Regions from separate parts of the Homo sapiens genome. Here region 1 is linked to region 2. The links are contacts of gene promoters, found by promoter capture Hi-C in blood cells and fetal thymus (Javierre and others, 2016). All regions are on one chromosome and are shown on one strand. Each heading gives the region's core, a stretch centred on a gene start or on the middle of the fragment in contact. The rest is flanking DNA. Distances are from core to core; before and after follow the strand shown. Region 1 has its middle 72 kb from the start of RUSC2. Region 2 holds the start of UNC13B (unc-13 homolog B).

What was found. Contacts are between HindIII fragments. The CHiCAGO score rates a contact against its expected background, and 5 or more counts as called.
Region 1: a contact is called between a fragment that was not itself captured here and the fragment with the promoter of UNC13B in region 2, in 1 of 17 cell types (M2 macrophages). The highest score is 6.6, in M2 macrophages.

The regions. Positions count from the first base shown.
Region 1 is chr9:35,416,660-35,419,644 of GRCh38, forward strand. It overlaps the pseudogene ATP8B5P. Among named protein-coding and RNA genes, the nearest start is that of RUSC2, 72 kb to the right of the region's middle. The HindIII fragment of the contact is 836 bases long and covers 1,213-2,048 here.
Region 2 is chr9:35,160,412-35,163,332 of GRCh38, forward strand. It overlaps UNC13B (unc-13 homolog B), which reads left to right and starts at 1,598. Exons shown (of 40, transcript NM_001371189.2): 1 at 1,598-1,894. The coding sequence starts at 1,873. RefSeq lists a silencer at 1,464-1,593. The HindIII fragment of the contact is 6,795 bases long and covers 1-2,672 here.

The DNA of each region.
Region 1 (2,985 bases), core at 381-2,880, 260 kb after region 2:
GTGAGTGCATCTATGCATAGCATTTCTGGAACACTTCAAGGTGACTGTATCCCCATAGGAGGAGCACTCTCCAGGTTCAGGCTTGCACAAGAGGTAGAGTCACAATTCTTCCTTACTTGGAACATCAACATTCCTGCAGATGAAAAGAGGTACCTGTCTGATCTGAATAGCTAGAACACAGTCAGGAGTGTGTCCTGCTGGCCTGGCAGGGGAGCTGAGGTGGCTCCCACCCTTCTGCCTGATAAAACCTCAGTGTTTCTCACTGAGAGCTCCCCCAGCCACCTCTGACAAACTTGGGACCTCTGCCCACCATTGGGTACTGCATTTACCCACCTGCTTCAGCCACAACTGGTTTCTACACAGGGATACCTCCTCTGCTGGCCTGAAGCCCAGACTGTTCAACCAGTAAATAAAATACTAGGGAAAAATAAGTAAACAAAAAGGTGTATACCACAGGGGAATGAAATAAGTAAGCTTCAAGAGAACTCTGCTGTTCCAACCCCCTGTGAGACAGTAAACTTGCGCACATACTGTGCACATTGTTACTACAAACTAGCATCTGAGAAGGCCATCATACAAAGACTGCCAGTAACCAAGGAACTTACGTAGAATCTTCACCCCTGAAAGCACCAAGAGCCGAATTAGGCTACAGTAAACATTAAAGTCAGATCCTTAAGAGGGTAAAAAGAAATTTTTAAAAAACACAATCAAAATAATTCTATAATAACTAGAAGAAATGGTCTACCCAAAAGAGAAGGAACCAGAAAAATAATTCTGGTAACATGGCAAAACAGGGTTCTGTAGCACCCCCAAAAGATCACATTAGCTCTCCAGTGATGGATCCAAACAAAGATGAATTTTTTTTTTTCTTTTGTGATGGGGTCTCCCTCTGTCACCCAAGCTAGAGTGCAGTGGTGTGATCTTGGCTCACTGCAACCTCCGCCTCCTGGGTTCAAGCGATTCTCCTGCCTCAGCCTCCCCAAGTAGCTGGGACTACAGGTGTGTGCCACCACTCCCAGCTATTTTTGTGTGTGTATTTTTAGTAGAGACAAGGTTTCACCATGTTGGCCAGGCTGGTCTCGAACTCTTGACCTCAGGTGATCCACCCGCCTTGGCCTCCCAAAGTGCTGGGATTACAGGTGTGAGCCACCACACCCAGCCAAGATGAAATATTTGAAATACCAGATAAAGAATTCGAATGGTTGATTATTAAGCTTTGATTATTTCCTTGAGTACAAGGAGATACCAGAGAAAGGTGAAAGCCAACACAAAGAAATTAAAAAAAAAAAATTCAGGATATGAATGAAAAATTTTCTAAAGAGATAGAGATCTTGAAGAATAGCTAATCAGAACTTCCATAAATGAAAGACACATTTAGGGAATTACAAAATGCAATGGAAAGATTTAAAAATAGACTAGAACAACCAGAAGAAAGAATTTCAGAGCTTGAAGACAAGGCTTTCAAATTAACCCAATCAGAAAAAATAAAAAAGAATAAAAATAAATGAACAAAGTCTCCAAAAATATGGAATTAAGTAAAATGGCCAAACCTAATAATAATTGATGTTCCTGAAGGAGAAGAAAAAGCAAAAAGTTTGGAAAACTTATTTGAAGGAATAAATGAGGAAAACTTCTCTGACCTTGCTAGAGATTTAGATATCCAAATACAAGAAGCGTAAAGAAATCCTGGGAGATTCCTTGCAAAAAGGACATTACCAAGCATATAGTCATCAGGCTATCTAAAGTCGATGTGAAGGAAAGAATTCTAAGAGCAGTGAGACAAAACCATCAGTTAACCTGTAAAGGAAAACCCATCAGACTAACAGAAGACTTCTCAGCAGAAACCTTACAAGCCAGAAGGGATTGGGGTCCTATCTTTAGCCTCCTTAAACAGAGTAACTGTCAGCCAAGAATTTTGTATCTAGCAAAATTAAGTTTCATAAATGAAGGAGAAATAAAGTCATTTTCAGACAAATGATGAGGGAATTTGTCACTACCATACCAGCCCTACAAGAAATTCTAAAAAGAGTTCTAAATCTTGAAACAAAAGCTTGATAGGCAGCAAAATAGGACCTCTGGAAAGCATAAAACTAACAAAACCTATGAAACAATAACACAATGAAAAATACAAAGTATCTAGATAACAACATGATGAATGGAACAGTACCTCACCTCTCAATATTAATGTCACATATAAATTGCTTAAATGCTCCACTTAAATGATACAGATTGGCAGAATGGATTAAAAAAATCACAAACCAAATATCTGCTGTCTGCAAGAGATTCACCTAACATGTAAGGATTTATATAAACTCAAGGTAAAGGGGTAGAAAAAGATACTCCATGTAAATGGAAACCAAAAGCAAGCAGGAGTGGCTATTCTTATCTAAAATAAAATAGACCTTAAAGCAACAACAGTGAAAAAAAGACAAGGTAATTATACAATGATATAAGGCTCAATCCAACGAGAAGGTATTACAATCCTAAATTTATATGCACCTAACGCTGGAGCTCCCAGGTTCGTAAAACAGTTACCGCTAGACCTACTAAATGAGATGGATAGCAACATAATAATAGTGGGGAACTTCAGTATTCCACTGACAGTGCTAGAGAGATCATCAAGACAAAGTCAACAACAACAAAAAAAATTGACTTTAAATGACACTCTCAAACAAATGGACCTAACAGATATTTACAGAACGTTCTATCCAAGATATGCACAATATACATTCTTCTCATCAATACATTTAACATTCTCCAAGATAGACCATATGATAGGCCACAAAACAAGTCTTAATAAATTTATAAACATCAAAATTATATCAAGTATTTTCTCAGACCACAGTGGAATAAAAGTAGAAATTAACTGCAAAAGAAACCCTCAAAACTATACAAATACATGGAAATTAAACAATCTGCTCCTGAATTATTTTTGAGTTAACAATGAAATCAAGATGGAAATTTAAAAATTCTTTTAAATGAATG
Region 2 (2,921 bases), core at 348-2,847:
TTGAATTTTTTTTTTTTTTTTTTTTAATTTGAGACAGAGTCTCACACTGTAGCTCAGGCTGGAGTGCAATGGCTCGATCTCCACTCACTGCAACCTGCGCCTCCTGGTTCAAGCAATTCTCCTGCCTCAGCCTCCCGAGTAGCTGGGATTACAGGCACCCGCCACCATGCCCGGCTAATTTTTTTTGTATTTTCAGTAGAGACAGGGTTTCACTATGTTGGCCAGGCTGGCCTTGAACTCCTGACCTCGTGATCCGCCCGCCTCGGCCTCCCAAAGTGCTAGGATTACAGGTGTGAGCCACCGCGCCCGGCCTAAGAACAGTTTAATTTTTAAGACCAGGAAGCAAACACAGAAACCAAATACATGGTTTTTTGTTTTCTGTTTGTTTTTTCTTTTGCAGCTGTGAGGAATTTTACTCAAATTAGATAGGCCTTGTTACCCATAATTTGGAATTCTCACTTGGATTTGACCAAGTGAAGTAGAGTTGGTCAATGGGAAAAAGACAAACAAAATAAAAAAAAACCCAACAATATGATCACTGAGCACTCTAATGGTAAGCAGAAATTAAGACCAGCTGGTTGTTAACTTTAGCCAAGACAAAAATCCCTATTCAGCTACTTACCTAGGGGTGCGTCTCAGGCTGAAAACGGCTGTCTACCATCCCAGAAGTAGGAAAAAAACCCCTCATCTTCCCTGTTGGAAGTGAGCTCAAACTCCATAAAAGAGTTACCTGCCTTCCCTCGTCATGGAAGCAGGAAAACTTGCCTTCCTTGTTGGAAGCAAGTAAAACTCCAAAATAATAATAATAATAATAATAATAATAATAATAATAGAGGGAGTTGTACAACAAAATGAACTTTAGATCTCGACCAAATTTTGGGAGATCAGGGATTCTCTGGAGGGGGTGCTCCTAGACCTTAGCAAATTGTCCTGTTGGTTTGAGCCATGGAGTTAGCTCATGTTGGTACCAAGCATGGATAGGAGATTTGTCAAAGATCAGAGGTATCTCCACTCACAATCCCTCCGTGGTTACCATCCTTCATTCAGTAAATATTTACGGACTGATTACCATACACTAGGCACTATTCCAGACATTGGAGATACAATGATGAGCATAAAAAACGGTCTAGATAAGAACTGAGGTCTCCAGACATACTTTATGCCCACTCAGTTTTGTCTTTTGCCCTAGTTGCTAAACAAAACTTAACTTTGCTGTGCGGTGCGACTTCGTTAACTTAAAATTACAGGCTGTCAGCTATGACCGCTAGACTCTAAGAAAGTCCAGTGGAAATCCTTCAATGAAAAGAATCTGTTCTTGGGTGGAAGCCCCGCTCATGCAGGAGGAACAGAGGGCTTCCATTCTCGCGTCACACAACTGAGGGTCAACCCCTTGCTCCCTGCAGTAAGCCTGATTAGTGGGCGGAGCTTCCTTCAGGATCGCAAGAAAGAAAGGAGGAAGGGGACCCCGCCTCCTACGTGCTCGCGGGGGGGGGCGGGGTCGGTGGACTGGGCGTGAGTTAATTGGCTGGGGGGCGGGGCACCACGGGTTGGCTCCGCCCAGGCGCTCGCGCGGATCCCGGGTGGAATGACGGGAGGGAGTCCCGGCAGCTCCTACCTCCCAGCGATGGCGTCGCTGTGCCGCGCCCAGTCCCCAGCCTGCCGGCCGGTACTCACCGCTACCCGGAGTTCGCTCAGACGGTGAGATTTGGGGCGGGTCCGAGGCAGCGGCGGGACGCTACCTGCGACCGGGACCATGAGGAGCTGCCAGACCCGTGGGGCCGGTAACGAGAGCAGTCGCGGCACCTGCTGAGAGGAAAGAGGGAGCGGTCCGGCGCGGCTGGGGCGCGGCAGAGGCTTGCCCGATCCTCGGCCATGTCACTGCTCTGCGTGCGCGGTGAGTGCGCGGACTGAGGCGGGGAGGCGGGGTGTCGGCGTAGAGGTCCCCGCACCCTTCCAGTGGACGTCCGGTGACCGTCTCACCCAAACTTTACATCCCGTCCGTGCTTTGGGGGTCTATTATTTTGGCAATCACTTAACAATCACTTGAGTTCTTTCCACTTTCTTGTTTTCCCCCAAGCTCCTGCAAGGGACGATTAGCTCTCCATTCTGGTAGCCATGTGACAATGTTGTTGGACTGCAGGCTCAGATCCTATTAAACAGTGACTGGGGTTCTCTAGTGAGAGTGGACGAGTTAGAAGACCGCGGATGGTTGGTGCCTGTGAATGGTGGGCAGCCTCTCATTCTTTTCCTCCTCCTCGCACCGTAACGCTACAGTATGCTTAGTAGCAGGTTCTTTTTATCACACTTTGAATGCGTTAGTGGTACAGCTGTCACATCCCTTCTATTGCTTGTCTTGTCCCCTGCCACTTCCCTGAACACTAACCGGTAGTATAGGCTAAGATTATTCTTCTGTTCCACTTGGGAGGATGTGGTGACTGCTTTTGAGGATAAGAGGTATGATTTATTTTTATTTTTATTTTAGCTTGCCTCACAGTAACTCAAGGTGAAGGGCCATTATTGCTTTTCCCCTGAGGACACTTGACCCATCTAAGAAGATATCTTAAAGCAAGAGCTTTGGGGTTTAAGATGAGGCATGGTACGCGAACTAAGTTCTATGTGGGTAGAGACTGTTTCTTATTAGTTTTTGTATTCCTGGTGTCTGACGTAGTAGAAGCTTAATGCTGGTTTTGAATGAATGCAAGTACTGTGACTTCAGAGAGATTATCTGATCAGGAAAACACAGGGTTTGGATTAGCCATTGAATTTGATCTCGGGAAATTCAGGTTACAGCCTATCATATCTGATGTGTCTTGATTATGAATGAGAGAGCATTTATCAACTAGAGCCTTTACCTGATATCTTTTACTGGAGAGTTCATATTTCTTTTGGCTCTACAGATTAGAAGCATTGTTGTTGTTTGT